Linked DNA regions of Homo sapiens: region 1 is linked to region 2. Evidence: promoter capture Hi-C in 16 types of primary human blood cells and fetal thymus (Javierre and others, 2016). All regions are on one chromosome and are shown on one strand. The core of a region is centred on a gene start or on the middle of the fragment in contact, and the rest is flanking DNA. Distances in the headings are between cores, read along the strand shown.

What was found. Contacts are between HindIII fragments. The CHiCAGO score rates a contact against its expected background, and 5 or more counts as called.
Region 1: the fragment with the promoter of SUPT16H here is called in contact with a fragment that was not itself captured in region 2 in 1 of 17 cell types (total CD8 T cells); the score reaches 6.8 in total CD8 T cells.

The regions. Positions count from the first base shown.
Region 1 is chr14:21,382,628-21,385,327 of GRCh38, reverse strand. SUPT16H (SPT16 homolog, facilitates chromatin remodeling subunit) reads left to right here and starts at 1,309. Exons shown (of 26, transcript NM_007192.4): 1 at 1,309-1,466. The coding sequence starts at 1,401. It overlaps CHD8 (chromodomain helicase DNA binding protein 8), which reads left to right. Exons shown (of 38, transcript NM_001170629.2): 38 at 1-129. It overlaps LOC107984643 (a long non-coding RNA gene), which reads right to left and starts at 1,055. Exons shown (of 2, transcript XR_001750627.2): 1 at 615-1,055. The HindIII fragment of the contact is 3,293 bases long and covers 640-2,700 here.
Region 2 is chr14:22,589,983-22,592,682 of GRCh38, reverse strand. No RefSeq gene overlaps it. Among named protein-coding and RNA genes, the nearest start is that of DAD1, 2.1 kb to the right of the region's middle. The HindIII fragment of the contact is 3,829 bases long and covers 1-2,700 here.

The DNA.
Region 1 (2,700 bases), core at 60-2,559, 1.2 Mb after region 2:
CCACAGACTATGTAGCGCTGGCCCTAGCCTCTGGCAGAGCCTGTTCCTGGCCGAACTGTGGATACAGCTGGAGGGTCAGGAACTGTTACCTTCTTTCCCCTTGGCATTAATAAATTTAAGTTAATCCTTTTCCACTCTTCCTTTGTTCTATGTTTGCTCAAACCCAGTGTATTGATTTTGAGTTGTTAATGGTGGGTAATTTCAGCACCACTTTCCTTAAGTTCAATACTGTTTATACTAAATTGCCTTACAGCAGACAAGTCATCTGTACTCCTCTAAAGGGTATATACAAATGTAGACTGTCCAGCTGGCTAAAGGCAAGGGAATTATTTAAGGTAAATGGTAGGTAGGCAAACTTCTGGATTCAAACTCCAAGTTTTTAGAAGAGACAGGGAGCAAGAATGTCATCAGGAACCATTTATGTTTTGTTTCTAATTAACTGAAGTAACGGTTATTTGGGGGAAGCCATAGAATAGTGCCAGTTTTCATGAACTGCAGCAAGGGGACTGGCCGACTGGAAGGATGCTGCCGCGACTTGGGCTCAGGGGGTGGGGTTGTGGGAAGGAACTAAAAGTTTGTAGAGCCCCTCAAGTCATCTGTTTCCTCTGACTTACACCATCCCACTGCTCAGTTAAAGCTTGCGCATATTATTTTCCTTTCGAAAACTAGGTTCCTCCCCCAGCTTGGGTCGTAGTTTATCACGAGGCTGGGCTCCATTTCCCTGGTATGAGTCCTCTGTCCCGGCGGAGCGCTTGACCCAGCATCCTGGCACCGAGGATCCCTCGAGTCCTGGAGCAGTCAAGGGCTTTTGCATTCCCATCATTTCTAGGAGGGGCGCATGCCCAGTTACACTGTAGTAGTCCCACTTTTATCCCACGCTAGATCCCGCTCTTTCCGCTCCCCCTTCCTTTGCAGATGGGGTGGAGCTATAACACCCGCGCGCGGCAGCTCTTGTGGGCGGGGCAGGCGCCGCCTCCTTCGCTTCGTCTAGGGACTGCCGCCTCGGCAAAAAGTCTGAGGTCCTGGAAACCGCCGCTGGGCTGAGAGTTAATAAGGGCGGAGGCAGACCGTCACGTGACGACGTCGATTCGCGTGCGGCAGTGGCGAAGTTGACAAACCCCGCGAAAATCGACTCTTTGCATCGCACATTTTGTTGATTTTCCCTCGTTTTTCTTTCTCTCTTTCCCCCGTCCATCCGAAAGAGGGTTGGAAAAAAACAAAACAAACAAACAAACAAAAAAAAAACCTAACGCTGTTGGGACCCGGAAGCGGAAAGGGCATCTTTGAGGTCGATACTTCCGGGTCATTGGGAGAGTGCGGGATTCCTGGGCCGAGAGCGGGTGGCTGAGCCGGGACCTCGCGTGATTCTCGGAACCCGAGGAGAAGCGGCGTCCGGGGCTATGGCTGTGACTCTGGACAAAGACGCTTATTATCGGCGAGTGAAGAGACTGTACAGCAATTGGCGGGTGAGGAAGATCCTGTAATTTTTCCTAGGGAGCCCCCTTAGCCATCCCATAATAACCCTGTTTCTCGGCGCCCTTTTTTCTCTTTCGGTCAGGAATTCCCGGGTTCTGTGCCTCACCCTTTTCGTTGCTCCCGAATCATTCACCGGAGGCGGCCACGAACGCTGCCCCTTAACAGGGAATCCCCCGCATTCACCCTGTCCTGCGGCCATCACCATCTTCCCCGCGTGCCAGCCTTGGTCATGCATAGCAGCACCTCTCGCAGTCTCTTCCCGCCCTAGAAGAGGCAACATCCTTCCCTCCTACTCCGTGGTCACGTCTTGCTGCCCTCCCCTGCCGTGTTCTCACGCACTCGCTCTGTCCCTCCAGAACCACAATATTCCACCCCTGGTCCCGCCAGGATTATAACCGTCTTCGTAAAGGAGAGATGGAAGGGCAAGGAGGATGTCAATCGGGCTTTTAGCGTTTATCGTTTGCGGGGCTTTTGCTGGAGTTAAAAAAAGAAATACTGCTCACGCGCAACCGCCTCATGTTCTAGGCCCTGCTGTGGGTTACAGAGAGGGACCTAACGCTGAAAGCCTGCAGGCATTAGTAATAACAAAACAAAACAAAACGATGCCTAAAACCTTATTAGTTCCTTGGTAGCGTATCCGGGGCACGTGTTCATTAAAAGAGCTGTGGCAGTTCCCAGTTTTTTAAAGATTCGGCAGTTTTGCTGCTCTAAAAACGTCCACAGTTAAAACTTATTTTTATGATGTTAACTTACTAATTGAGCAAACATTTGGTTGCATTCTGTGATGCAGTCTGAGTTGGCTAGCTTAAGTCTTGCCCCTGAACCCTGTCATCAAGGGAAGATACAGCTAATAAAGATTTTTTTTTAACCTGAAAAACGTTTTGAGAAAAATGATCAGCTCTCATTTCAGCATTGTAAATTATCTTTCAAACTGGTCATCTACTAAAACCAAGCCATTAAAATTGGTCGTTTCCTTGCCATTCATATTAAAGCTGTCTGTGCATGTTTCATCTTTTGGGGCTAAATACATTAGATAATTGAAAATAAAATTGATTCTCTTGCATTTTATGAAAAGGAAAAATAAGAACTAAATGCTAGATGAATACTGAACATTTTATTTTTTTTAATTTTTTGATTAATTTCTACCAAATGATTTTTTGCAGCTTCTCTCAGTGTCATATTATTCAAACATAATCGATGTTAGAAAAACATTTTAAAACCTTG
Region 2 (2,700 bases), core at 18-2,517:
TTCACTGAAGATATTTACTGCTTTACTAGGACTTGATCAGAAACTTGATACTTTAAAAATTTGACTTTGTGCTGTTTGCAACTTGATTCTCCTTAAATTTTTATTTCTGAAAATAATAACCTATTTTATCTGTTCTATTAGGAAACAAGGAGAGGGGGTTTTGGTCACACTGGGGCCAAAGTTTAGAAGGTAGAGATTATATATGCAATAGCAGTTAACAGAAGCAAAGAGGGGAATCTTAAGGCAAACGTGACAATGCAAGGGAAAGGAAATGGAAAAGACATTCTTTTCCATGCGGAGATTTCCTTTAGAAGAGTTATTGTCTACTCAAACTTTGGAGGATTTGTGTTTCTTTTGGTAAATAATGTGATTTCTTTTTGTAGAGGATGTATGATGTAAAATCATGGACTTTGCCCTTAAGGGAACCCTCTTGCTCCTCCACTCTTCCATTGTTTTATGTAATGAAACCCCTAAAGTATACTCTGACTTCAGTTTCAGCTTATAAATTAGATCTGCCCTTTAAGAGCCATTTGAGTTGCAGTCCCTCCAGTGCTATCTTTTGCATACCCAAATTATTGGGGGCGCTGTAGTTTGGCTAACTTTTAATCATTCAGAGAACTAGGAGAAGCAGACATGGTTAATTACTAGGATTAATGATAGTTAATAAGAGCAAACATTTACTGAACATTTACTGTCTGCCAAACACTATGCTAACAGCTTAATGCTTAACATTATCTCATTTAATCCTCACATAATTTCAATGAGCCAGGTATTGTTATTTCTGTTTTATAGAAAAGGAAAATGAGACTGTCAGACTGAGTAACTTGTTCCAGATTAGACAACTAGTAAACAGCAGAATCAAGGTTCAAACCTAGGACTGTCTGATTCTAGAGCTTGCACTCTTATCCACTACTCTGGACAAGAATTTTAAACTATATTAATATTCTGATTTAAACTAATTGAAATCAACACTAGTGTTAGCAATTTCCTATTGACAGATCAGTTAAAAATGTTTCAATGATTATAGAATCATAAACCGAATAGAGAAGTAGGCCTTTTCTTGCTGTTTTAAGTAGTTCAGAAAAGCCCTAGTGTAGTATATTGGTGTGACTAGCAGGTCTCAGAAACAAATGCATTCAATAAGTCCATTTGGTGTTTTTCATCTCTTCTTCTCTCCTGTGAGAGTTCCTGGGGAGATCTTAATGATGATAGTTGACATGGATCAAAGGCAGACAAAACATAAGGGAGAAAACACTGGAAGGAGCCTGGCTGATGGAACAGAAACTCCCTGAAGAATCCACACCTGAATGATTAAAAAGCATCAGCCTAGCCTGTAAAGTTTGAAGTTGAATATTCGTGAGGAAGCTACCCTCCTACTTGTTGATGAGGCAGAGAGAAAGGTTCAACTTGTCAGAGAAATTGATGCTTCCTGCCATATTATATTGAAATAAGAACCAGCTTGTTATCCACTCTTTTTTTTTCTTTCTCAGCAACATAGGTTTAGGCTGAACTTATGTTCATATAGCTGCACAAATCTCCACGGGTATGAATATAAATCTATCTATTCAAATAGACTCTAAAGGTTTCTTAGGTTATTTCTCTTCTTTCTAGAACTTAAGTAAGGCTTTGATCACCACTGATAATACATCCGTTAGTTAATGCGTGTAGAGTTTCCAGTCTAAAGGCAAATAAAAAGTGAAAAGGGGCCGGCGCAGTGGCTCACTCCTATAATCCCAGCACTTTGGGAGGCTGAAGCAGGCAGATCACCTGAGGTCAGGAGTTCAAGATCAGCTTGGCCAACATGGCGAAACCCCGTTTCTACTAAAAATACAAAAATTAGCCGGGCGTGGTGGCAGGTGCCTCTAATCCCAGCTACTCGGGAGGCTGAGGCAGGAGAATGGCTTGAACCCAGGAGGTGGAGGTTGCAGTGAGCCGAGATCGCACCATTCACTGCACTCCAGCCTGGGTGACAAGAGCAAAACTTCATCTCAAAAAAAAAAAAAAAAAAAAGTGAAAAGGCAGGAACGCTGTTGTTCACCTGCTGTTTTAGGAATTTTGCTCACGTACAGTTCAAAATATTAAGAAGCTGAAAATAAAGTACCTGGTCATGTGTGGAAAAACTTACAGCTAAAAGGTGAGATGAACTGGGTCTAGAAGGTCGGATTCACGTGAAATTAAAAGGGCAACGAAAGCCAGAACTTAATTTCTTAAAAAAAGTTAAAACAGGCCGGGTGCAGTGGCTCATGCCTGTAATCCCAGCACTTTGGGAGGCCGAGGCTGGCGGATCACAAGGTCAGGAGTTCGGGACCAGCCTGGCTAACAATGGTGAAACTCCGTCTCTACTGAAAATACAAAAATTAGCCGGGCGTGGTGGCGCGTGCCTGTAGTCCCAGCTACTAGGGAGGCGGAGGTTGCAGTGGGCCGAGATCGCGACACTGCACTCCAGCCTGGCCGACAGAGCAAGGCTCCGTCTCAAAAAAAAAAAAAAAAACAGTTAAAACCCTCAAAATAATCCCACTTGTTAAAATACAAAACCTGAAACCATTTCAGTTTCTTCTGCAAAATGAGTTGGAGAGAGTAGGGTTGAACCAGGCATGCTCTTTCGGGCCTTTCGACGCTGACATCCCGGGATATTACACCAGGTTCAAGATACCAGCTTGCGGAAAGAGAGCTGCTAAACTTGACCATATGCTTTTTGCA